Regions from separate parts of the Homo sapiens genome. Here all the other regions are linked to region 1. Evidence: promoter capture Hi-C in 16 types of primary human blood cells and fetal thymus (Javierre and others, 2016). All regions are on one chromosome and are shown on one strand. Each heading gives the region's core, a stretch centred on a gene start or on the middle of the fragment in contact. The rest is flanking DNA. Distances are from core to core; before and after follow the strand shown. Region 1 holds the start of SLC6A19 (solute carrier family 6 member 19). Region 2 has its middle 13 kb from the start of MIR4277. Region 3 has its middle 36 kb from the start of MIR4277. Region 4 overlaps LOC107986397 (a long non-coding RNA gene). Region 5 overlaps TRIP13 (thyroid hormone receptor interactor 13). Region 6 overlaps LPCAT1 (lysophosphatidylcholine acyltransferase 1).

What was found. Contacts are between HindIII fragments. The CHiCAGO score rates a contact against its expected background, and 5 or more counts as called.
Region 2: a contact is called between a fragment that was not itself captured here and the fragment with the promoter of SLC6A19 in region 1, in 1 of 17 cell types (monocytes). The highest score is 7.2, in monocytes.
Region 3: a fragment that was not itself captured here is called in contact with the fragment with the promoter of SLC6A19 in region 1 in 5 of 17 cell types (naive B cells, monocytes, total CD4 T cells and 2 more); the score reaches 7.6 in naive B cells.
Region 4: a contact is called between a fragment that was not itself captured here and the fragment with the promoter of SLC6A19 in region 1, in 1 of 17 cell types (non-activated CD4 T cells). The highest score is 5.6, in non-activated CD4 T cells.
Region 5: a contact is called between a fragment that was not itself captured here and the fragment with the promoter of SLC6A19 in region 1, in 3 of 17 cell types (M1 macrophages, erythroblasts and fetal thymus). The highest score is 6.1, in M1 macrophages.
Region 6: a contact is called between a fragment that was not itself captured here and the fragment with the promoter of SLC6A19 in region 1, in 1 of 17 cell types (naive CD8 T cells). The highest score is 5.5, in naive CD8 T cells.

The regions. Positions count from the first base shown.
Region 1 is chr5:1,199,893-1,204,165 of GRCh38, reverse strand. It overlaps SLC6A19 (solute carrier family 6 member 19), which reads right to left and starts at 2,571. Exons shown (of 12, transcript NM_001003841.3): 1 at 2,314-2,571. The coding sequence starts at 2,515. RefSeq lists an enhancer at 1-103. The HindIII fragment of the contact is 15,195 bases long and covers 615-4,273 here.
Region 2 is chr5:1,693,492-1,697,764 of GRCh38, reverse strand. No RefSeq gene overlaps it. Among named protein-coding and RNA genes, the nearest start is that of MIR4277, 13 kb to the left of the region's middle. The HindIII fragment of the contact is 471 bases long and covers 1,566-2,036 here.
Region 3 is chr5:1,670,708-1,674,980 of GRCh38, reverse strand. No RefSeq gene overlaps it. Among named protein-coding and RNA genes, the nearest start is that of MIR4277, 36 kb to the left of the region's middle. The HindIII fragment of the contact is 3,707 bases long and covers 26-3,732 here.
Region 4 is chr5:1,552,481-1,556,753 of GRCh38, reverse strand. LOC107986397 (a long non-coding RNA gene) reads right to left here. Exons shown (of 2, transcript XR_007059102.1): 2 at 799-4,273. Among named protein-coding and RNA genes, the nearest start is that of LPCAT1, 31 kb to the right of the region's middle. The HindIII fragment of the contact is 946 bases long and covers 787-1,732 here.
Region 5 is chr5:899,472-903,744 of GRCh38, reverse strand. TRIP13 (thyroid hormone receptor interactor 13) reads right to left here. Exons shown (of 13, transcript NM_004237.4): 4 at 3,196-3,251; 5 at 2,314-2,404. Among named protein-coding and RNA genes, the nearest start is that of TRIP13, 8.7 kb to the right of the region's middle. RefSeq lists a silencer at 357-651. The HindIII fragment of the contact is 227 bases long and covers 1,458-1,684 here.
Region 6 is chr5:1,471,099-1,475,371 of GRCh38, reverse strand. LPCAT1 (lysophosphatidylcholine acyltransferase 1) reads left to right here. Exons shown (of 14, transcript NM_024830.5): 10 at 687-812; 11 at 1,262-1,415. Among named protein-coding and RNA genes, the nearest start is that of SLC6A3, 28 kb to the right of the region's middle. The HindIII fragment of the contact is 3,401 bases long and covers 1,280-4,273 here.

The sequences.
Region 1 (4,273 bases), core at 1,322-3,821:
AGGGAACCAGGAGGACCTGGCTGCCTGCTTCCCCTCGATTTGGTCTCGATGACCCGCATCAATTAGGAAATCTGGTGTCACTGACAAGGCATGCATGCTGGGGCCCTCACTAAGATGCACAGAGAGAGAGTGCGCTGTCTGTGGGTGTGGCCTCCCAGGGACGCAGCCTGCCCCACTGTTTTGGTGCCCATGAGGCCCCCAGGAGCCATAGGAGGGGACCCTGTGTCGCCGGGTCCTTTCAGCTGCCTCCCTGAAAGCTCCCTTGTGGCAGAGCTGCGGCCCAGATTGGATTCACCAGGAGACGGGTGCCCTGCTGGGAAACCCGGTGGCCTGCAGAGCCGTCTCCCATTCTCGGGGCCCTGCCCTTCTGGCCCGAGTCCCTCTGGCTGCAGTGTGGGCTTCAGCTCTTTCAGGCTGGTGGTCTGGTATGTGGGGTCCTGGTCAGCCCCCACAGCATGACCAAAAGGCACAGGGTTCCTCCAGGCCGGGGCGACTGCCAGAACCCTGTGGAGCCATCTGCGATGCCGCAGCTGATGGGGGCCCAGGTGACAGTGGCCCTCAGAGTCTAGCAGGTGACCTGGTGGCCCAGCCGAAGGGCCAGGTCAGGGGAAGCTTGTCTGGGGTCTGGGGAGAAGGGCCTGCTGGTGTCCACCCCAGGAGTGGGACCATCTGAGACCCAGCACATCCCAGAGCCCTGCTCGGCCCTCCTCACCTGGGCCTGCCTGCCCGGAACCCGCTGCCCGCTGCCCGCTGCCCGCACCTGTCCACCCCAGCATGGCCCAGGGTGCAGCGCCAGCACCCGCTGCTTGAAAGCTGCTCGCTCCCAGGCTCCACCGTGCACAGCGGCTGGTCTCTGGGTGTCAGAGCGGGGACTATCTGAGGTGCTGGGAGCCCCATCAGATTCCTGCCCAAGCCCGCATCTTAGAACTTGCCCTTCTGTGCAAAGACAAATAACTTCCCAGGCAGGCTCAGGCAGTCCCAACCCCTCCTCTTCCCAGGAGGCATGTGTCTGCCCCTCCATCCCCAGTGGGGATGTGAGCCTGTGACTCAGTTTCTCCTCCAAGCTAAACAAACTCAGGGTGTGGGTGAGCGCAGGGATCCTCCCCACAGGATAGGGCCCTGGGGGAGGGGGCGAGGACAGTGGCCAGGAAGTCCCCTGAGGCTTTGGTGAGCTGAGACTTGGGGACTGTCAGGGACTATAGTATCGGAGTGGCCAAGGTCCCCCGACCTGCCTCCAGTGGAAAGTGCAGGCTGGACCAGAGGCTCATGAAGCGCCCACCCCCGCAAGGCAGTGATCAACTCCTTGACAATGCTGGAGGCGAAACTGATTCAGGAAAAGCCCATTTCTGTTTTTCTTTAAAAACCTTCACATCACAAAGCCCGCGTGAGAGACAGCAGCTCTCCATGGTGAGAAGGAACAGGGCCCCCTGAGGGCAGACTCCTCTAAACGGAGGCTGAGACCTTCACGGCCCCCCCGTGAACTGCCCCAGGGCAGCAGGAAGCCTGTTTCCCAAGGGTGCCCGGCCCTCCTGGACCTTCCGCTGAGAAAGCAGCAGGTTTATGAGGGCAGCAGCTTTGGGGTTCGCCAAGCCCAAGGCTGAGTTCAAGTGTGGGGGTCCTAGGTACAGCCCCCTGCCAGGCCTGGGAGCCACTTCTCAGATGCTCAGGACCACTGGGCAGGAACACAAATGTCACCTCTGTGCCAGCAGCGGCCATGCCTACCTGGGCCGCAGGAGCCAGAGGAACGAGGAGCAGTCAGGCTTGTGTGTTGGGTGGGCACAGCGGCTCCCGGCCTCCAGGCCTGAGGGCACCTGGCTCAAGAGCCAGGCCCGAGTCCACAGGCTCCGGCTACCCACTCTGCTCCTCTAGGGTCACCTGCCCCCAACCCAGCTACCTCCTCTGCTCCCTGCACTGGCAGGTGTCCGCCTGTGGGGCTGGGACGAGAGGTGATGCCCAGGAGGGCCCAGCCCCGCGTCCTCCGAGGAGGGGCTGTACCGGGAGAAACACCCTTCCCCCGGCCCCACCCTCAGGCCAGAACGTTCCAGGACTGCCAGTCTGGAACACAGGGCCCTCCCTGGAGCCCCACACGAAGTCTTGGGGTCGTGCCGGCCAGGCCCATCTCCTCACCAGCAGCCTAGGAACCGGGCACGGGGGCCCGTGGGGGCCCCAGCTCCCCCCACACCCTGCGGCTTCTCCTCTCCCCTCCGTGCTTGGGGAGCCGAGGGTCCGGGGAGGATGTCTGCCCAGGGCCTCTGCGTGTGTCTGTGCTTCCCTGGCCACGGCCTCGCCCGCAGCCCCGCCCGGCCAGCCTACCTCCTCCGTGGCTCTGACACAGGTAGGGGAAGCGCCACACGTTGCCGAGGCCCACGCAGAAGCCCAGGCAGGTGAGCATGTACTGCGCCTTGTTGTCCCACTTCGGCCGGGAGCTGGCCTCCTCCTGCTCGATGGTCTCCAGCTCAGCCAGGGACGGGATCCGGGCGTCTAGGCCGGGGTTGGGCAGCACGAGCCTCACCATGGTGGTCGCTGGACGGCTCCGCACACAGCAGGCAGGGCAGAAGCTGGAGGGCGAGTGGCCGTGGGCCGGGAGCCGGGCACTTTATAGAGAACCTTTGGCACCTCGCCCCAGGCACCTGGGCAGAACGGAGCCAGTCGTCAGCAGATCTGCAGGGTGCGTCTGCGGAGGGACTGTTAATGCCTTATCTGCAGAGACGCCCGGCCCCGGGGCCAGCAGAGCCACCCACTGCCTTCGGGCAACCGGAGGCTGCTCCGTGGGCGCTGGCCACCCCTCCCCCTGCACAAACGCACACACAAATGCGTACAAACGCCGGTGCACCCCGGGGAGAAAGAACCAAGGCAAACAGGATGCTGGCTCTGCCCCGGTCTGGGAGCCCCTGGCTGCCGCACACCCCCACCTGCAGGACGCCGGGTGGGCCTCTCCACAGCTCCCTGGAGCACAGGCATCCCCGGCCCCCACCCCAGTCCAGGGAGAGGGAACTCAGCGGGAGCAGGGGCCCTGGGGCAGCTCTTGGTCTGCTCACACCAAGCACAGCGAGGCCCTGGACCCCTCCAGCCTGGCTCTGGGCTCTAGACGGCTGCTCGGGGGCCCGGCTTCCCACCAGTCCCCACGGAACCACGGCTCCTTGGGATGTGGCCTGAATCAACCTGAGAGTGGGGTTCCCGTGGCTGTGCCCCCTGGGCCACAGTTTCATTCTGGGGTTCGTAATGAACTTCATAATGAACAGCTCACGCTGCCCAACCCCAGCCTGGATGCCCGGATCCCATCCCTGGCTGAGCTGGAGAACATCGAGCAGGAGGAGTTCAGCTCCCGGCCATAGGTTCAGGACCCAGAGCCACCCTCTAGGGCAGCCTCGTCCCCAAGGGCCCTCTGGGGTCACGGGGGATGGAGGGTCCTGTGTCATGGAACCTGCAGCCACCCCAGATCCCCACCTTCCCGGTGACTGCACGGTTTCTGTCCTTCTGTGGAGCACTTTGTGGGGGGCAGTCCTGTGCCGGGCATGGGACAGCGAAGGAGATGGTGTTCCTGCTCCCCAGCAAAGAGGCCGTGCAGGGAAGCCACAGGGCTGACCACGGGGTCCAGGAGGGGCAGGAGGAACGTTGCGGGGAGTTCAGGAGAGGATCCTGGGGGTTGTGTCTCCAAAGCCAGAGTGGGATTCTCTCCTGGTTTTCCGCACAGGGAGTTGGAGGCCATCCTCTGTCGGGCGCTGCCCGTTTGGGCCCCCACTTGGGCCTCCCCTCACGTCTCTCCCATCTAGGAGACCTCAAGCTCTGGAATCCCGGACCAGCCTTCCTGAGGCCAGGGACGGTGCCACACCCTGCGCCTCCCCAGGCCTTCCTCCCGTTGCCTCCTTCAGCCTCTGGGCTCACCTCCCTGGGGGCCCTCGCTGGCCCCCTGCCCCCACTGCCCACATGGCTCCTTCCATAGCCGGGGCCTTCCCGGCAGGCATGGGACTTTCTCCCTAGCCTCCTGGTTCCTTTATCTCAGTCTGCACCGCTGGGCGATAAGGACCCAGAGCCGCCCCCGCCCCCACCTCCACCCTGCACAGGGCTCATCGACATTCGCTGAGTAATGGAGATGAAGGCGCTGGGGGCGTCACTCAGAGATGAGCGAGTTTAGGCGCCTGACCTTTGCCCCTAGGACACAGGAACTCAGAAAGGGAGGCCAGAAGGAAGAGATCACGTTTGCATTTAAGGACTCCTGGCTTCCGAGCACAGCGCAGATTGGAGGGAAGGGTGGGGACTTGGGAAGACAGAG
Region 2 (4,273 bases), core at 552-3,051, 490 kb before region 1:
AGTCAGACTGGAATTATGGGTCAATGAGTGAACACTGGGACTTCTGACATGTTTCAAACATTAGCGGAGGTTTTGTTTGGAAAGAGACTGAGCCAGGGCCTTCTTTCCCCCAGCTGGTGCATGATCACCTTTCAGCTTCCAAAAGAGCTTGAGCATTACTTCCCAACTACAAAAGAACCCCGAACTGGGAAGGAATGGATCCGTGACCCATTTGTGAATAAGCCAGGTGAATCGACTTTGTCCTTGCTAGAAGAGGGTCGGCTGCTTGAGATCACAAATAATGGTGGCCTTACAAGTGTGTTTGAGACAACTTCAAATCTCCATATGTTCTGGACTAAAGTCAAGGTGGAATATCCTGAGATTGCCACAAACGCACTGAAAAACCTGCTTCCATGCCCAACATCCTGTCTTTGTGAAGCAGAGTTTTCTGCAGTGACAGCAACCAAAACGAGATTACAGAGTACACCGGACATAAGCAACACACTTTGGGGGTGACTGTCTCCATCACTCCCAGATGGGACCATCGAGTTGCAGGAAAACAAGCTCAGGGCTCCCACTGATTATACGTGATAGTGAGCTGTATAATTATTTCAGTATATAATACAATGTAATAATTACTAGGTTGGTTCAAAAGTAATTGCGGTTTTTGCCATTAAAAGTAATCTCTGGTGCCAAAAAATGTTGGGGACTGCTGCTTTAAATCATGCAGGTGGAATAAAGATGTGGTTATTTAAAAAGTTGAGAAAATTTATCTGCAACATACTTGCCTTACAAGGCATACTAAAGCCACATTTTTCAGCTCAAGGAAAATGTTCATGGGGGAAAGGATGAAAGGAATGAAGAGCACCACAAAGGATAACTGTTAGGGGCAGTGTGAGTGTATGGATTGTTTAAAGTGATCTTCTGGTGTTTGCAACGAACACAGAAGTAAAATATATGACTACAATGGCATTAAAGGAAATGCGAGCGGGGGCACGACAGACCACTCATAAGATCCTTCAACTGCTTGGGAAGTGATAAAAGTATTCGTTTCAGGTAGGTGTTTTGTTTTGTTTTGTTTTTTGTTTTTTTTCCCCCCACAGGGTCTCGCTCTGTCACCCAGGCTGCAGTGCAGTGGCACAATCATGGCTCACTGCAGCCAAAACCTCCCAGGCTCAGGTGATTCTCCTTCTCAGTCGTCTGAGTAGCTGGGACTACAGGTGCCCACCACTATGCTTGGCTTATTTTTCTTAACATCTTTTGTAGAGAACAGGGTCTTACTTTGTTGCCCAGGCTGCTCTCAAATTCCTGGGCTCAGGCAATCCTCCTGCCTTTGCCTCCCAAAGTGCTGGAATTACAGGCGTCAGCCACTGTGCCTGGCCTAAGGTAGGTTTTTATACTTCAACTATGCAAATAATAAACTATAGGGAAATAAAAAATATATAACTATAGTGCCAATAAAGTGGGGATAAATAAAGTAAAGAAGACACATGGAATAAACAGAAAATAAATTATAAGATTTTAGAATGACCATTCAACTATGAATATAAGTAAATTTAAAGGACTAACTTCATTATGACCAAGCTTGCCATATTGGTTTTTAAAAAGTAAAGAAAAAAAAATCCCACCACATTTGTAAGATGATGTTCTGAGTGAGTTTCCAATTTTCAGTCTTTACTGGGGTCAGGTCAAAGTCATCACCATGCCAGACAGATAAAACTTTCATAGAAAATAGTGTTACTGGCACAAAGAATCAGGGACAGAGATTGTGGAGACCTCAGCAGATGGAATTTGGCAGGATGAATTCTGAAAAACAGAGAACTACAGAGATTGATACCTGAGTTCTGTGTGTTAGACCTTTCCAAATCTCCAGCTGAGCTCTGAAACTGTGATTACAGTAAATGTAAAGAAACTGAAAATGAAAGAAATAAGCAGAGATTTCAGCTGTTTGCCATTATTATAAGGAAAGTGTTTGGAGTTTACATTCAGGCAAATTAACTGCCTCTAAAAACAGATAAAATAGCAACAGTATTCCAAAGAACAAAAAGAATCAAGCTTTTACAATGTTTAACAATAATATCCTGCTATAATCCCTAAAATTTGTAGATATTATATTTTTCTAAAAAAGGAAAACCAGAAAAATGTGACCCACAATAAAGAGTAAAGGCAGGGCCAGGCGCAGTGGCTCACGCCTGTAATCCCAGCACTTTGGGAGGCCGAGGCGGGCGGATCACGAGGTCAGGAGATTGAGACCATCCTGGCTAACACAGTGAAACCCCGTCTCTACTAAAAATACAAAAAATTAGCCGGGCGTGGTGGCGGGCGCCTGTAGTCCCAGCTACTCGGGAGGCTGAGGCAGGAGAATGGTGTGAACCCAGGAGGCGGAGCTTGCAGTGAGCCGAGATTGCGCCACTGCAGTCCAGCCTGGGCCACAGAGTGAGACTCCATCTCAAAGAAAAAAAAAGAGTAAAGGCAAATGACAGAGGCCAACTCCAAGATAACTCAGGTGTTGGAGTTACTACACAAGAATGTTAAGGCAGAAATGATAACAATAACACTCAAGGGCATAAAGAATGAATGAATATTTGAAATGAATGAACAAATAGTAAATGTCATCAGAAAAATTAAGAGAACCAAATATAAATTACTTAAAATGTATAAAATATAAAAGAACTATATGAAATTCTATAACTGAAAAATATAATATCTGAAATGGAAAATGCAACATGTACACTTAGCAGCAGAATAGGGATGATACAGGAGCCAGTAAACTTGGAAGATACATTAACAGAAATCATCTAATCTTAGGGAGAAGAAGAAAAAAACTGAAAGACATCAATGCAGTCTCAGAGACCTGAGAGATACCATCAAAGGGTCTAATAGTGAAATGTGAGTCACAGGTGTACAGGAACAAATGGGGGAGAAAAACATTTTTGAAAAGTAGAGGACACATTTTCTCACTTTAGTAGAAGACATGAGATTAAAGAATCAAGAGGCCGGGCGCGGTGGCTCACGCCTATAATCCCAGCACTCTGGGAGGCCGAGGCGGGCGGATCACAAGGTCAGGAGATCGAGACCATCCTGGCTAACACGGTGAAACCCCATGTCTATTTAAAATACAAAAAATTAGCTGGGCGTGGTGGCGGGCCCCCGTAGTCCCAGCTACTCAGGAGACTGAGGCCCAAGAATGGCATGAACCCAGGAGGCGGAGCTTGCAGTGAGCTGAGATTGCGCCACTGCACTCCAGCCTGGGCGACAGAGTGAGACTCCATCTCAAAAAAATAAATAAATAAATAAAAAAGAATCAAGAAACCCAAGTGAACCCAAAGCAGGATTGACAGAAAGAAAAGTATCCCAAGCACATTAGGGTCTAAATGAGGAAAGTCAAAGGTAAGAGGAAACATTAAAAGCAGCTGAAGAAAAAGCACACATCATACACAGGAGAACAACATGCAAACAACTGCTGGACTTCTCAGCAGAAATAACGGAAGCCAGAAGACAGGAAAATGACATCTCCAAAGGGCTAAAAGAAAACACCGAGAATTTTATACTCCAGCAAAATATCCTTCAAGAATAAGGACAAGCAAACATGCTCTCAAAGAAGGAAAATCTAAAAAAACATGTGCCTAGCAAATCTACACTCCAGAAATGCTAAAAGCTCTTCAGGCTGAAGCCAAATGACATCAGATGGAAGTCAGATCCTCCAGAAGGTCTGAGGAACACCAGTTTCAATAAATACATGGGTAAATGTAAAAAATTATTTTCCTTTGAATTTTTTAAAATTAACGTAATCGTTTAAAACAAAAATTATAAGGGGTTTTCAAGGCTAGTTTGGTAGGCAGGGGACCAGGGAATGGGGAATATTGTTTGGGGATGAAATCATAGGGGTGCACTGAGTCTGCCCCTGGGGGGACCACAGGATTGGTTGAGTCATGAGTCAGGTGTCCGGGTGGGGTCAGTCTGAAAGATATCTCAACACATCAATCCTAGGTTCTACAATAGTGAAGTTGTCTATATGAGTAATTGGGGAAGTCACAAATCTGTGACTTCTGGCCACATGAGTCCTAAGCAGCAAGGGATTATAGAAGATACACCTATCTTGTGACCTTTCATTAGTTTTACAAACGTGGTTTAGTTTTGGGAAGGGCTATTATCATCCTTGCTTTAAACTAGAAACTAAGTTTCTCCCAAAGTCAGCCTGGTGTACACCCAGGAATGACCGAGGACAGCTTGGCAGTCAGAAGCAAGACAGAGTCAACTATGTCAGATTTCTCTCACTGTCATCATTTTGCAA
Region 3 (4,273 bases), core at 630-3,129, 470 kb before region 1:
TCTCAGACTTTGTTGTTTTAAAGCTTCATTTTGATGTGTCTAAGGATGGATTTCCTCTTGTCTAAATGTTTCTTGCGATAATTGGGATTCTTAAATGTCTGTATTGGTGTCTCTAAAAATTTCTGCACATCATTTCTTCACATGTTTTATCTGCCTCGTTTTCTCTTAGCCCTTCTTTCATTAGACAAATCTGTTATTTCCTAAATCCTCCTGGGAAAGTTACCTCTTCTTCTATAGTGTCCTTTTAAAATATTTCTGTTTGGGGAATATTTTTAGCTGATTTTACAATTTGCCAATTCTCTTCTCTGTTGTGTTAATTTTCTGTTACACCCATCTATTGAGGTTTTTTGCTATTTTTTAACATTTTATTTCTGGAAATTCTACTTAATTATTTTGCAAATTATCTATTTTTAAAAAATTTTCCTGATTCCTGCAGATATTTTTAAGACTATTCTTAATTTTTTATTTTATAATCCATGTTTAATACTTGCAATTTCTGGATTCCTTAAGGGCCTGTATTTAGGAAGTCTTAGTTGTACAAAGCTGTGTGTTTCTAGGTTACTCAGAATACAAAGAGAGTGGAGGTGGCTGGGCACGGTGGCTCATGCCTGTAATCCCAGCATTTTGGGAGGTCAAGGCAGGTGGATCACCTGAGGTCAGGAGCTCGAGACCAGCCTGGCCAACATGGTGAAACCCCATCTCTACTAAAAATACAAAAATTAGCCAAGCATGCTGGCACACGCCTGTAATCCCAGCTACTAGGGGGTGCTGAGGCAGGAGGATCGCATGAACCTGGGAGGCAGAGGTTGCAGTGAGCTGAGATCGTGCCACTGCACTCCAGCCTGGGCAACAGAGGGAGACTCCATCTCAAAAAAAAAAAAAAAAAAAAAAGAGAGAGAGAGAGTGGAGACAGGGCGGGGCACAGGGGCTCACATCTGTAATCCTAGAATTTGGGAGGCTGAAATGGGAGGATCACTTGAGCCCAGGAGTTCAAGACCAGCCTGGGCGAGACGAGCCTTAGTGAGACCCTGTCTCTACAAAAAAAATAAAAAAAAAAAAACCAGTCAGGCATGGTGGCATGTGCCTGTAGTACTAGTTACTTGGGAGGCTGAGGCAGGAGGATTGCTTGAGCCCGGGAGATGGAGGCTGCAGTGAGCTGTGATTGCACCACTGCACTCCAGCCCAGGCCACAGAACAAGTCCCTGTCTCAAAAAACAAACATATATATATATATATATATAGTGAGAGTGGGATTGAAAAAGGACTTTATTTCTCTAGAGAGTTCAAAAGTATTTCATAAAAGGGGATATTTCTGTTAAATTCATAATTCATTTTTTAACTTTGATGTCCACAAACTCCTTGTATGTTAGAAACTTTACTTTGTCTTTTGTGGATGAGGAAGCTGAGGTCTGGGTGAGATAACGTCTTGCTCGGTTCTCCCAGTGGCGAGGCCTGGACTCACTCCAGCTGCTCTGATTACAGTTGGATGACGTTTAGGACACAGGCTAAGAGACATGAGACGGCCGCCCGAAGGTGAGAGGGCGCCAAACAAGCGTGCGAAAAGGAAGAGCTGCTGGGAATACCCGAGCTTGAGACCAAGAAACTCACACGGGCTTCCCTGCATGTCACCAGAGGGTGGCACGGAAGTGTCAGGACAGGTGGGGAGATGGATTAGGACGGGAGGCCGAGGAGTGGCAGAAGACAGGACAAATCGGCCTGCATGCTCCTCCCCGGCCCTTCATGCTCCTTACCGCCTTCCGTGCTCCTCACCACCTTCCATGTCCCTTCCCAGCCCTCCATGTCCCTCCCCGGCCTTCCGTGTCCCTCACCAGCCTTGTGTGTCCCTCCCCGGCCTTTAAAGTTTGCAGGGGCTGCCGCCTGCTGCTCGCCTCAAGCCACGGTATGTCACAGTGACTGAGTGATGAAAAACACCTCTCAGAAAAGTGAAATACCATTTCCTCATCTCAGTATGTTTTGCTCAGAATTTGAGGAATTCACACCTAAACTTCTTGTTCTCGCATACTTGAATGTTTAAAAAAAGAGAACCACGTTGGTTTCTGTGTGAACATTTATAAGATATGCCCCAAATCCCAAACATTTATCTGAAAAATAAACCTCGAACTCTTTATCATAGCGTAGCCCTCCCTCCCCGTTTGGCGGATGCCACCCCCACCTCAAGACCCACTGCATACATCACACACACAGCGGCTATGACTCCTCCTGCCCCGGGGGTCCCTGCACCTCGGGCAGCCCTGAGCTCTTAGCCCACTGAGAGACCACTCAGCACCACACCCCGCGCTCTCCCCGACACCTCTATACCCATCACTCCCCTCCACCAGGCACCTGGCGGCAAGGGAGGGATTTACATCCTTCTTAGGTGCTCTGAGTGAGTTCTGCAAGCTGTCCAAGGCCCTGGGGAAGAAGGCAGATGCAGATGCAAGCTGGCTCCCCGAGTGTGGATGCACATCAGGCCCGGGCTAGGCGCTCGCATTAATGACCTTCGCAGCACCAGGAAAGGCAGGCATTCCGGGCTGGGCATTTCGTGTCATATTCTCAAGGTCAAGCAGCTATTAGATGGCAGAACCCGAATTTTAATCCTGGTGCGTCTGACCACCCCAAAACACCAGACTCTTTGCAATCTACTATGTTGTTTTAAAAAAATAAATTACTTTTCAGTGATGGTGAATGAGCTAATAAAAATTACACTGCGTGGCAAAGGGCAGTGATGGTTCCTTACTCACCCCCGTGGGGCCGACTACTTTGTTCCCTCAACCCCCGGATAATGTTGACTTGTGCTGATGCTGTCAGATTTCCTATGGTCAGTCCTTTTTTGGAAAAACAAGGCTCCCCTGTAACCAAAAGAAAAGTTGACATGTCCCCGGGGCCTGCAGTTATGGGTGGGGCTTGAACGTCACCCGAGTCTAAGCAGCTCTCTGCCCGTGAAGCTGGGGGTGGCACAGCCCCTCTGCCCCTGAGCGACCCCACGCACACCCCTAATCTCCACTCCTCGCTCACAGACGTCATGTCAGCAGCTTGAAATGAGCCAGGGTGGGGGTATTAACACCACGGAAGTCAGCGCACACTGCAGATCAGGGCTGTCTTCCCCAGACATAGAGCTTCCCAATATTTACAATCACGCCACGGGAGTACACTAGGAAAAATATGTTGAGAGCCCGGGTGATCTTCCTCATGCATTGGAAATATAAAATTAAATCAAATTTAAAAACTAGAGGGTCAACATTTGACAACGGTTCATACATGAAAGCATAAGAATAAAACTACTATAAAGTAAATTTTAGTGACAAGTTTTTTTAGTGGCGATAATACGTACGAGTCCTTTTTAATGCTTTAACATGGGGATTGATGCCACCGTCACAGGGCAGCCACGCCCCTCGCCCGAGACTCTGGGAGTTGCTCTGCAACAGCACTTGGGAGGCCTGGGGTGCCTCCCATGGACACAGCACCATCCGTTTTCAAGCGATCACTTTAAGAGAAGCGCCATGAATGAAATCCATCAGCCACCCTAAGTTTCTCCAGCATATGGCTGGCTCATGAAAACAGAAATGCCCTCCAACTTCAACCTATGAGGCCTTGAGCCTGTTTGGGCAGGAGCTGGTGCTTCTGGTGCTGCGGCCAGATGCTGTGCCTGGTACCTCAAGCATGAAATCAAGAAAACTCTTCCAGCTCAGGTTTATGACATTACTGGTCAATGTCACAGAGGAATACAAAGCTTCTCTATCTTTCCTAACCACGCAGTCCATGCTTGGGCAATTCACTGAACAATGGCGATGAAACACCCTCATCTCTATCTCTGCACGCCAAACACAGAATTCTCTCTTGGCCCCCTTACAGGGCTGATGTATGAGCCAAACCTGGCCCAAGGAGGAGTCCCAAAAGGTTGCAGAAGAGCCGATTATCCACCCCATGATACCCACATTCCCACCCGCCTTCCATCTCTCAGGAATCAGGAATCAGAAGGGGTCTACTTTTCCCAGAAAACCTTTATTGCTTCTACCTGGGTACTTTCACTGGTCCCAGGAAGGGAGAACACATTCAGGTAGGATTAAGTTCTACTGTTTCCAAATTTGGAAAGGAAAGTTCTTTTGTCCTCCAACATTTGGGAAGGAGAAGTGATGCTTAAAAGAGAGCCCCTCAATGGAGTATCTCAAGGCTCTTCAAACAGGTGACTTCGTCTTATGAATAAATTATGGAAACTCCTTCTTCTTCCAGAGTTAGCAATGTTACAATTAATTATGTACCTGATGACAATGGA
Region 4 (4,273 bases), core at 10-2,509, 350 kb before region 1:
ACAGCACCGTTCCCTCTGCCGCCGCCGCCATGCGAAGCCCTCCTCACCCTGTAGCCCCACCAGGAGGGAAGCTCCGTCCCTCAGCAGCCAGCACTCCCATGGGGATTCCTGCAGGAGAAACCTGAGGGTAAGGGGCGAGGCGAGCAGGATAGGGCAGGACCAGGCGTCAGGAGGGGGTCCCTGTCAGCCAGTGACCCGCACCCCACTGCTGGCCCTGGGGAGGCCAGGGTGGCCATGGCACCCGCCACTGTCAGTCATTGGCTCTGGGCCACCCACAGTCTGTGCTCGTGACCTCCCAGGCATCTCCCAAAGAGGTACACAGCCTCCTCAACTCGGCAAAGGGGTACAGGCCCAGACAGGGCATCTGGGAGGCACGGCAGCACCTCCACAAGCCCTGTGGACAACGGTGGGCCCCATCTGGCACCGCCCACTCTGCACATGGCACTCAGGAGGCGCTCGGGGCACCTGTGTTCATGGAGCACAGAGCAAAATGGCACTTGCGCGCACGTGGGATTCATGCCCCAGCCCGCTGTCCTCAGCCAATGGGCAGCAAGCTGGAGATACACTCCTTCCTGGAGGCCTCGGGCCAGGGGCTCTGTCGCCAGGCTCTAGATCAGCACTGACCCCTTCCTGGATCATGACCCGGACATGGGGTGGACCTAGGGCCTCGGCTGGGGTTGGAGAGATGATAAGGGAGGCTGTGGCCTGCAAGGTGAGGCCCGCAGGGCTCAGCATTGATCTGGCCTCCCCTCAGATTGCTCCAGTGGCCTCTCTCAGCCTCAAGCTTCTCATCAGTAAAATGGTGCAGAAAACAGGGCTTCATGTCCTGGAGGGTGTGAATTCACCAGGGCCCTAAATCACCCAGACCCCTACTGTGTCCTTGCAGGGACATGGCACTCCTGCGTTTGCTTCATTCCATTAAAGAGAAAAAACACAGACACAGCCACTGGTTGTAGAGCTCGTGGTAAACAACCCACCGCCGGCGCCCCGCTCCACAGCCACCCCACAGCTGCCGTTCTGACGCGCGGCCGCCACTGTGCAGCTCTTTCTGCTGGACGTGGCATCTTCGCCTCCTCCGACATCTAAGAATCCTGGGCCAGCCCTGTGGTTCACCACAAGGAATGCCGTACATTGGGCAACTATGAGCCAGGAAACCACACTCAGAGGAGCTGGACACGGGACATCAAGGGCACTGCTGGCAGTTGAATGGTGTTTGCAGAGGGAGGCAGGGAGACGAGGGCAACCTTGACCCAAGCTCTTGCTCGGATAAACACTTAAGCAACGTTGTCAGGAAGGAATCCATGACTCGATGGTTCAGCAAATATTAGCTCAGCAGGTGGCATTCAGCTGCTGGGGGCAGAGACAGCATTGCATGCAGACACGGCTCCACTCAAGTTGGCCCGCCCTCGTGTGTGAGGAGGGCGCCCGGCCAGCCAGCACCCACCCTGGAGGCTCCCTTGGCAGGTGCAGTCCACCTGGCCCAGCTGCAGACAAGACCCGTGGCTTGGAGGTTCTGGGTGTGTCTCTGTCTCTGTGGGCTGAGGGACATCGTGGAGCCCATCCTCAGCCCCATGGGAGCCTGAGACACTCCCTCCTCACTGCTCACACCAGACCAGGTTCAGAAAGAGACATGAGGCACTGTGCGTTTTGCAGAGTCCACAGGATGAACACAAGGGTTTGGATCCCAGACGTGCCAAATGCCTAAAGGGTGCACTCATTAAAAAACAAAGCTTTGAAGCTGAGGATCATTTCTGCAATGTGGAATAATCCTTGTTTTTAGAAAAGTCAGTTTTCAATTCAATCTGTCTCATAATTGAAAATCTTTATGTAGTGAAGTATCTTGAAGTAAAACAAGCTGCTAACAAGCCACCATCACAACTTAATGAGCGCAGCACAGGGGCACTTCCCGGCACGCGCCTGCCCTCGGCCACACGGCTGGTTTCCACCAGGCTCCCCACATGTTGCCTTCAGGCTGAGCCTCGGAGGCACCCATGTTGGCCGTAGCCTTGTAGAACAGTTAAAATTCATAAATGCACTGGAGTTTTGGGGGACCAAGCCGCTCACCTTGCAGAGAAGGAAGATGAGGTGCTGAACACCCAATGCCTTGATCAAGGACATGCAGTGGCCCCAAACCAGGACCTGTCCCTTGCCCTCGGCTGCCCTGTGCCCTGGTCAGGTGTGGTCAGGCCTGTGGAGTTTCTGTTTGGTAAAGACCTTGCATCAGGCATGTCACCTCCAAGATGTCCCTCCCTTTTACCCTGCCTCTCATTACCAAGCTCAGACACAACTTTACCTGCTTCCAGACACCCAATTAAAACCCATCCACACGTAAAACCTCTTGGGCCATGAGGAGCAGGGTTACACCTGGGGGCACTGGATGTGGGGCATGGCTCTTCCTGTGCCCTGGGCCCCAGGTGCCCCCACAAAGCCCTTGGCTGCCCTTGGGTCCACCCCTCCTCACCCCCAGCACAGCAGTTTCCGGCACTGAGACTTGCGCTCTCACCTGCTGAGACTTTCGGAGCGTTCGTTTGAGCAGCACCTGTGGCCAGTAAGATCCTCGCGTTGAAAGGCCTCCCAGCCTCTGGAGGCCTCCTGGGAGCCGCTGTCCTCATAGGATGTGTCCCCCAGGGGGAAAGGCTCCCCACCCTGCCAGTTCCTCCACCAGCGGGACCAGCAGCACCCATCTGGTCCTCAGCCCGCTGGGCTTCAGATCCCTGCCAGCCCACAGGATTCTCCCAACACCCTGCCCCAAGCCCCACAGAGCCAGGGTCCCCTCACCCTGTGGGCGGCCACTGCAAAGCCATGCAGCCCCTGAGAGCCCACCCTGTCCCCGAGTGGAGTGGGCCGCCTTCCACCCGCACATCAGCACCTGTGACCGTGGCCTGCTGTCACTCTCAGCTGTCCAGGGTTGGGTGCTGGGCACTCAGGCATCTGGTGCCATTGAGGGCAGCGGGTCCCCCTCACCAATAGGGTAGAGAGGAAGGAGGTGATCAGAATAGCCCCTGTGGCTCAGCAGGCCCAGCTTGCAGGCCCACCAGAGCCTTGCAGGACCCCACTTCCCCCATCAATGGGCTGCAGAGGAAACTGCAGGGCTGGGCTTTTCTATCAGAGGACCATCCGGACATCTCAGATTACAGAGCCACAAAGACGGGGAGCTGGCGGGGCAACTCCCCAAAATCCAAAGGAGTGGGGGGCTCTAAGTCACGGCGGCTCTAAGTGGTGAGGGCTCTAGTGGTGGGAGCTCTAAGACTTGGGGTCTCCAAGTCGTGGGGGCTCTAAGTAGTGGGGGCTCTAGTGGTGGGGGCTCTAAGCCGTGGGGTCTCCAAGTCGTGGGGGCTCTAGTGGTGGGGGCTGTAAGTCGTGGGGGTCCTCAGGACCCTCTTTGGCAGAGGAGAGCCCACCTGGGCTAATGCTCACTGTCTGGAAACTAAAGACCAGCTCCGTGCACTTTAGGACGTGAAGAAAAGGCAGAGTGAAGGAGGCTCCTGAGCGTCCTGTAAACTCTTGGAAGTTCCTCCGGGTTCGGGGCGCCTCTTTCCCAAGCCAAGCCCAGCAGTGCTGTCTGCTCCCCCCACCCCTGGGCTGACCTAATGAAAGCCCGCTCTCTCCAGGCGCCCATCTGTGAGTCCGTCGCGGCAGGCCTCGGCGGGGCCCTCTCTGCTCAGAGCTCTTCTGGGTGGAACAGAGGCTTTTTGTTGCACGGGATTTCCAGGGCTGTGCTGGCTTCATGCACCGAGGGGCCTGCTCTATAGGCCACGGCCGCCGGGCCAGCGTCCAGCGGGAACACAAGGGAGCTGTGTGTCGCTGGGTCAGCATCGTGGCCCAGCCCGGCGGGAAAGTGGGGTGGCTGCTACTAAGGCTCTGGCTTGTTTGAATGAGGTTGCTTTTCCCAGAGTAGCTGAAGTGTCAGTCCACGCCGAGAGCTGGTTGCCTGCCAGCATCGTTGCCTTTAGATTTAAAATGAAAATATGACAGAGCCAGAAGCTGGGTAAACTGTTTTCCAACCCTCTCCTTTCACAAAGCCAAATGGAATAATTGAGATCAAATCCAACTCTTCAAAAATGCATTTGCCTGACAACTCTCCATGCCAAGTGTCGGCCTGAAATAATCCCTTCGCTGACGCTCTAAGCCCGGAGAAAGGCTGCCTGTCACAGGGGTGCTGACGCCGCCAGACACAACCGCGCCAATGAACTGAATCCTCACTCTGAAAGCGAAAGGGTTGGCTGCAAACTGAAGCTAAAACCAGATGCCCATCAATGCTGTTAGCAGTAAA
Region 5 (4,273 bases), core at 322-2,821, 300 kb after region 1:
ACCTTTCTTGATAAATGGAGGTGGAGGGGTCATGTGTTATTCCTGTTGCCCCCAGAACCACCCTCTTTCCTAAGACAATTCTCAGTGGGCTCATACCCCATACTAGAAGAGGCAGAGGCCAGCACTCTTCTTGCACGCCTGCCTGCCAAGCGTCCCCTAGCATGATGTGGGCGGCAAGCCACCCAGGTGCCGAGGCAAGAGACCGAGGGCACGAGCTGTTCCAGTATAATAAAATAAATAAAATAAGAATAATTATACTAGATATAGATCTTAGATATGATTATATATGAATATTAATCATTAATTTGTAGCAATTACTCTTTATTCCAATATTATAATAATCCTTGCTCTACAATCATAACCTAGGAAAAACCAGGCCATACAGAGATAGGAGCTGAGGGGACATAGTGAGAAGTGACTAGAAGACAAGAGTGCGAGCCTTCTGTTATGCCTGGACAGGGCCACCAGAGGGCTCCTTGGTCTAGCAGTAATGCCAGCGTCTGGGAAGAAGCCCGCTGCCAAGCTGACCGTGGTCTAATGGTAGCGTCAGTGTCAAGGAAAAACACCTGCTACTTAGCAGACCGGGAAAGGGAGTCTCCCTTTCCCCCGGGGAGTTTAGAGAAGACTCTACCCCTCCACCTCTTGTGGAGGGCCTGACATTAGTCAGACCCGCCCGCAGTCATCCAGAGGCCTGTCTCCCTGTGATGCTGTGCTTCAGTGGTCATGCTCCTAGTCCGCCTTCATGTTCCATCCTGTACACCTGGCTCTGCCTTTTAGCTAGCAGTAGCAAATTAGTGAAAGTACTAAAAGTCTCTGATATGCAGAAATAATGGTGTAAGCCGTCTCTCTGTTTCTCTTCTCTCTCTCTGCCTCAGCTGCCAGGCAGGGAAGGGTCCCCTGTCCAGTGGACACGTGACCCACGTGACCTTACCTATCAGTGGAGATGGCTCACACTCCTTACCCTGCCCCTTTGTCTTGTATCCAATATATATCAGCGCAGCCTGGCATTCGGGGCCACTACCGGTCTCCGCGTCTTGGTGGTAGTGGTCCCCCAGGCCCAGCTGTCTTTTATCTCTTTGTCTTGTGTCTTTATTTCTACACTCTCTCGTCTTTGCACATGGGGAGAAAACTCACCAACCCTGTGGGGCTGGACCCTACAAAAGATGCCTCACAGAAGCTGCGAGGTGACCAATATGGAAAAAGGAAAGCATCTAACAGAAAATGGAGACATACAACTCTAATTTTCTGCAGGTATTTTCAAGAATTAAAGAGGAAATACGTAACTGGTTCCAAACAGAAACAACTTATTTCACTAATTAAAACACCTGCTGCTTACTCTGACTGTGCTATGAGGGCAGTATGCGGGGCCTGTCTGCTCTTTAAAAGAACATTGTGTTTTAAGGTCACTTTGTCACGCAATCTTAACTGACTTAAAGAAGCCAAGTACCCTTCAAGCTTCTATTTAACACTTGGCTACAGTTTCATACTCTCGAGTCCACTCAATTCCCGTGTCCCCATTCTACCCGGTGATATTGACAACAAAACAAAACAAAACCAAACAACAAACCATCAGTATTTTCTCCTGAGAAGAACCAGACAGAATTTCTTTAAAATATGGCTTTTTCAGTTTACTCCTCACAAAGTAAAGCTCTGAGTACTACAAGCCTAATTTATAAGTTAAGCTTTATCATAGGAATGTCTGTAGGAAAAAATAGTCTACATAAGGTTTAGTATTATCCACGTTTGGGGCATCTGAGGATGTCTTGGAATGTGGCCCCCCACAGGAAGACTTGATTAAGTGCCGAGTAATCAATGCCCCAGGGGCCGCGCGCGGTGGCTCAAGCCTGTAATCCCAGCACTTTGGGAGGCTGAGGCGGGCGGATCACCTGAGGTCAGGAGTTTGAGACCAGCCTGGTCAACGTGGTGAAACCCCGTCTCTACTAAAAATACAAAACTTAGCTGGGTGTGGTGGCGCATGCCTGTAATCCCAGCTACTCGGGAGGCTGAGGTAGGAGAGTTGCTGGAACCTGGGAGGAACCCAGGAAGTGGAGGTTGCAGTGAGCCGAGATCGGGCCACTGCACTCCAGCCTGGTCGACAGCGAGACTCTGTCTCAAAAACAAAAACAAACAAACAAACAAAAAATGTCCCAAGTGTCATGAGCTGGATCTGCTTCACAGAGAGGGGACATTCTAGGACAGCTGTGGCTCCTTCAGAAAACAAAGAGCCGTAACTCCTTGCAGAAGGACGAAGGTACAAGTAAAGGCTAAATTTCATGCCACTTATCTGGTCAAATAAAAGCCTGCATAATTTACCGTGGAGCAGCACCACCCGGTTCCAGGTGATGAGGTTGCTGTTGACGTTCTTGTCTGAAAACAGTAAAGTTGTCATCACATAATCGAGGAGCTGATAGAGAAAAAGAAAAGAGCTTGACAAAGATACCAACAAGGCAAAGGTCCCCAAGAAATGTGCCCTCCCCCAGGGCTTAATCCTACATGAGAAGAGGGAGCACAGGGAGCGAGGCCGCCTCCTAAGAGATCATCACCTCCAAACGCTTTCATTTCAGAAGAGAAGGTGCTTCCAAAAGGGAAAAGGAAAAACACTGGCTATTACTATTATAAATATAAGAAGAGCAACAAAATGATCACTTTTATTTAAAGTGCCAACATTAAACAAAACCACTAAGGGGTTTGTTTATCAAGTAATGAGTAAGCTCCTTCCCTAGAATGATACAGCAGTTATTATTCGCAAAATAACAACAGCCACAATGCAGAGGAGCAGTCTGAGTGATAGTCTCAGACTATCAATGCAGAGGACAGCTGAGTGATAGTCTTCTAGCCAGCTGCTGGCATGGGAAAGACCCTTCCCGTTGAAGAGGGTGCAGGGGTTAAGACACACCGGCCTTTCCTTTGTGCGGACCAGGCTTGCTCACCTTCCCTCCTCCCATCTCCAGAGGGTTTAATTCTCTAAGTTGCCTTCACGTTCTCCCTTTCCCTCTTCTCCCTCAGGGAGCTCCTCAGAGACCAGCTCTACTCTGGAGCAATACTAGAGGATAGATGTCCAGGACAAGGGCTGCCAGCAGACAGGGGCTCCCAAAAACCCATCTGCATCAAGTTGCTCAGGGGTGTTGGAGAGCAAAACAGTAATGGTTCCTCTTCAAATAACAGGGCATTCTGGGAAAAGGCACAGCAACTTACATGGGATTTGACTTCCACATCGTATACCAAGCTGTCCCAAAGCCCATGGAATTCAGCTGTGACAGAATTAAACAAAGACCTGATTTCAGGAAGGCAAGCAATTACAGCCACCCCCAGTCAGTCTCCCCTGAGCCTAAGCCTGAGCTTCCCATTGTGCTGCTCCAGGCAAGACTATGATTCTGATTACAGGAAAGTATAAATTCTGCAAATTTTTCTTCAAATTTTGATTTTTATTAAAATCAAAGATGCAAAATAAATGCCAGTCACATGTAACTTCTGGCAGACAACTGGATGGAGTCAAAGAATTACACTTTACGTCTCATTATCACGCACAATTGTCTTTTAAAAAAACTTTAACTTCCCATCCTTCTTTAAGGTATTGTTGTCATTTATTTTCCATTGACGTATAACATAATCCCCACAATATGTTTTCATTAAACTATCATTTTTTGGTGGTGAACAACACATTATAAAATTTATGATCATAGCCACTTACAATTGTCTTTTATCCATATGCTTCAGCACAAGTCCAGATGCCAAATCCACCTGTTTCCCCACACACTGACTGAATGAAGCCCTGGGCTTGGCCTGCTAGAGCCCATCCAAATCCACCTGTTTCCCCACACACTGACTGAATGAAGCCCTGGGCTTGGCCTGCCAGAGCCCATCCAAATCCACCTGTTTCCCCACACACTGAATGAAGCCCTGGGCTTGGCCTGCCAGAGCCCATCCAAATCCACCTGTTTCCCCACACACTGACTGAATGAAGCCCTGGGCTTGGCCTGCCAGAGCCCATCCAAATCCACCTGTTTCCCCACACACTGACTGCATGAAGCCCTGGGCTTGGCCTGCCAGAGCCCATCCAAATCCACCTGTTTCCCCACACACTGACTGCATGAAGCCCTGGGCTTGGCCTGCCAGAGCCCATCCAAATCCACCTGTTTCCCCACACACTGACTGAATGAAGCCCTGGGCTTGGCCTGCCAGAGCCCATCCAAATCCACCTGTTTCCCCACACACTGACTGCATGAAGCCCTGGGCTTGGCCTGCCAGAGCCCATCCAAATCCACCTGTTTCC
Region 6 (4,273 bases), core at 1,731-4,230, 270 kb before region 1:
TGGAGTCACACGTGGCGGGGCCAGGACTGCTGTGAGCTTCACAGGCAGCCGCTCAGTTGGGCCTTGTCCTTTCCTGTGGATAGCCTGAGACTCTCCTGTTCCAAATGATGATGCCTAAGTTTGCCAAGGGGAACTTCAGCGGCTCTCAACTAGGACTAGAGAGGCACCGATTTCTCATCACCTGAGCACACACGGCACGGTCAGAGCAGCTCTGGGAGTGAGGGCACAGCCCGCCTCACTCTGCTTCATCCTGTGCTTCACAGACAGTTGCTTCACGTTTGTGGCAACCCTGTGTTGAGCAAGCCTATTAGCACCGTTTTCCAGCACTGTGAGCTCACTTTGGCGTCTCTGGGTCACATGTTGGTAATTCTCGCACCATGAGCTCACTTCGTGTCTCCACGTCACATGTTGGTAATTCTCACGCTGTTTCAAACTTTTTCACGATTCTCACGTGATGGCAGTCTGTGTCAGTGACCTTTGGTGTGGCTGCCGTCATCGTTTCAGAGCACCCACGAGAGGTGAAGCTGATCGATGAATGTGTGACTGCCCCACCAACTGGCCCTTCCCCTGTCTCACTGCCTCTCCTCAGCCCTCCTCTCCCCTGAGCCATCGGCGGTTATTCTGGTGGGGCGGTGGGAACTGGCTGCCACGAGGCTGGGCTGACGGGGGTGCTGCCCTCCTTGTAGGGCCTTGGGTGTCTCCGTGACTGACTACACGTTCGAGGACTGCCAGCTGGCCCTGGCGGAAGGACAGCTCCGTCTCCCCGCTGACACTTGCCTTTTAGAATTTGCCAGGCTCGTGCGGGGCCTCGGGTGAGTACCTGGTTCTTCTTCCTTGAGCATTAGCTAGAACCCGTGATGCCGAGGTCTGGCGGGGGCTGCCTGGGGTTGCAGGGAGGGGAACTGAGGAGATAATTATTAATTATTCTGGCTTTTTTCAAATATCAACTTAAGCCCACATAGTGTCTTTCAATCCCTTAATGCTGGCATCAGCTGTCTGTGGACGGCGCCCCAGGAGGGCCACCCTGTGTCCTGCCACATCTGCCCTGGGAAGGGAACGGGTCTCAGGGGCACAGGCACCTGGCTTGACACTTGGACAGAACACATCTCGCACCTTCCAATTAGGAGAATGCCTTTTCTTGAAAACTAGCTTGCTGCTACTTCTGTCAATTTTAATATTTTGATGAGTCTTAGAAGTAAATCTGGTGTTAGCATGCCACCATTTTATTGAAAAAGAAAGCTTTCCCTCTTTTTTTGTCTAGGCTAAAACCAGAAAAGCTTGAAAAAGATCTGGACAGATACTCAGAAAGAGCCAGGATGAAGGGAGGAGAGAAGATAGGTATTGCGGAGTTTGCCGCCTCCCTGGAAGTCCCCGTTTCTGACTTGCTGGAAGACATGTTTTCACTGTTCGACGAGGTAGGGCCTGTCGCCTGCGGAGCGGGGTGTCGGCAAAACCTCCTGCTTTTTGAAGCATAAATTGTTCTCATTCTAATATAAATATATTTTCACATGAATTTGAAAGCAGAGAAGGAAAACCACCCATCACCACCCCACCCTATCATTTTGAGGTATTTCCTTCCATGCTTTTAAATACGCGTACACATTTGACGTTTAAATTACCCTTCACTGATGAATGTGCCTGTGGTTTGGGGTTTTTCAGTGTGATTACGGAGTCTAACAATATCAAACTGTGACACCCAGCCTGGGGTCTCCAAGGGACCCCCTGCAGGGTCCCCTGCTCACCAGAGCTGCTCTTTGCAGCGTCAGAGTTTCTAATAACACGCCCGTCCTCTATGATCGGCTTAGAGGCTCCCCGCCAGCCTGTGGGTGTGGGAGGGCTTCCTCCTGGTGCAGCCGCCCACTCCCCTCTGCCCTCCGCACGTCATCCCCAGGTCCTCGTCGTAATTGATGAGGCATCCACGGTCACACCAGGTGGCCCTGAACATGGCGGGCAGCCTCGGGGTTTTAGGAAGGTGCGAGGTGGCACGCAGGGGCGGGACAGGCTGCCACGGCGAGCCACAGGTCAGCCAATCCTGGTCTTTTCTGGGTGTTAGTGTCACAGCATGGACACTTACACTGTGGTCCTGGAGGAGCTGGTGATACGCCAGGGTGTGTGTAGAAGGCTCCTTCAGCCATGACTGTCCCGTGACAGCATGAGATGTCCCGTGTGACAGCACCATATATGTTTTGCACCAACACGGAGCAGCTGCAGTGCAGTCCTGGGTGGAACCCGGGCTGGCAGGAGGCCTCTCTGGCCAGAGAGCAGGTGAGGAGCACTCAGGACAGGGGGAGGACTCTGGCCAGAGAGCAGGAGGAGCAGGAGAGAGGAGAGAGGAGCACCCAGAGGCAAAGGAAGGACTCCCTGGTTGGAGAGAGCAAGAGAAGATGAGGAGCACCCAGGACAGGGGAAGGAGGCTGCCCCGCAAGTATGCAGAGTGTGAACCAAGGATCACAGTGCGTGGCTCAGGGCATTCTCCCACACGCACCAGAGGGGCCCCCAGCCACGGGCCCTCTGCTACAGGGCAGCTGGAAACAGTGTCTCGGATGCGAGTCCTGCCTAGTGTCCGTAAGGGGCCCCCAGCCGCGGGCCCTCTACTACGAGGCAGCTGCAAACAGCGTCTCGGATGCGAGTCCCTCCTGGTGTCCGTGCCACATCTGCAGCTGCGTTTGCACTCAGGCGCTTTACCACAGTGTTGGAATTGAAACGTGAAATGGTGAATACTGGTTTCACAGGCAGCATTCCTGGTTTCACAGGCAGCGTTCCGAGGTAACTTATGACACTGTGCAGTTAATTTTTTATTTTCTGCAATTTCAGATGCACATGATCTTATGAGATAGGAGTATTCTCCATTTACACCCAGGACCTCAGACCCCCAGCCCGAGACCTTCCCAGAGCCAGGGACTTGTAGTCATTTCCACCTGCCAGACACCCAAGCCCCAGTCCCAGTACCCCATGCCTTGCAAGGGGTGTGGCGTAGCACAAAGAAAGCTATCAGTTCCCTCAGAAGACCTTCAGGGACCTGTGTGCGTCTCACCCCTAGCACCTACAGCCTGTGGTTGACACAAGCGTAGAGGGGCAACTACTGGTCAAAGTCCTCCCTCTGCCCCTGGGTGCTCCTCACCCCCAGCTCTCTGAACAGGGAGTCCTCCCTCCGCCCCTGGGTGCTCCTCACCTCGCCTCCTCCTGCTCTGACCAGAGTTCTCCCTCTGCCCTTGGGTGCTCCTCACCTGCTCTCTGGCCAGAGTCCTCCCCCATCCTGGGTGCTCATTATCTCCTGCTCTCTGATCAGGGAGTCCTTCTGCCCCGGGTGCTCCTCACCTCACTTCCTCCTGCTCTCTGACCAGAGCGTCCTCCCTCTGCTCCTGAGTGCTCCTCACCTCCTGCTGCCTGGCCAGAGTCCTCCCCCTGTCCTGGGTGCTCCTCACCTCCTGCTCTCTGGCCAAAATTCTTCCCCTCTCCTGGGTGCTCCTCATCTTCTCTTGCTCTCTCCAGCCAGGGAGTCCTTCCTTTGCCTCTGGGTGCTCCTCACCTCCTGCTCTCTGGCCAGAGTCCTCCCCCTGTCCTGAGTGCTTCTCACTTGCTGTCTGGCCAGAGTCCTCCCCCCTATCCTGTGTGCTCCCCACCTTCTCTTGTTCTCTCCAACCTGGGAGCCCTCCCTCTACCCCTGGATGCTCCTGCTGCTCTCTTCCTGGAACCTCCTCCTGCTCTCTGACCAGGGAGTCCTCCCTCCACTCCTGGTTGCCCTTCATCTCCTGCTGTCTGACCAGAGAGTCTTCCCCCTGTCCAGGGTGCTCCTCACCTCCTCCCGCCCTGACCTGGGAGGTTCTTTCCTGTGGCCTGGGCACACCCTGCAGCCACGTGCAGACTGTCCCCATCGTCATCAGAAGTGCAGACCCTGTCAGCCCCCACCTGTGCCTCTCACCACCCTGCTCACTCACATCAGCATGTCCCTGGAGACTCTGGGTGTGAGGAGTTACTGAGAATGGTCAGCGCGGGGCTGACTGGCTTCCACAGCTGGCCCGGGCTGCTGTTTAGCTCCACGTCACAGCTCCGGGTTCACCTTCTTTCTGCAGGATGAATGGGTTGCCATAAACAGACCAAATTCCTAGAGCCCAGAATCAGCCTTGGTGCTTAGGGGGTATTCTCAAATGCAGGTCTTGGCAGGTGGCAGGCATTGCATCGCGTGTGCTTTGCTGAGGTGCTTCCTGTGGCAGCCTTGTGAACTTTGGGAAGTCACTGTAATGGCCCCAAGAAGTGTACACAGCACAGTGAC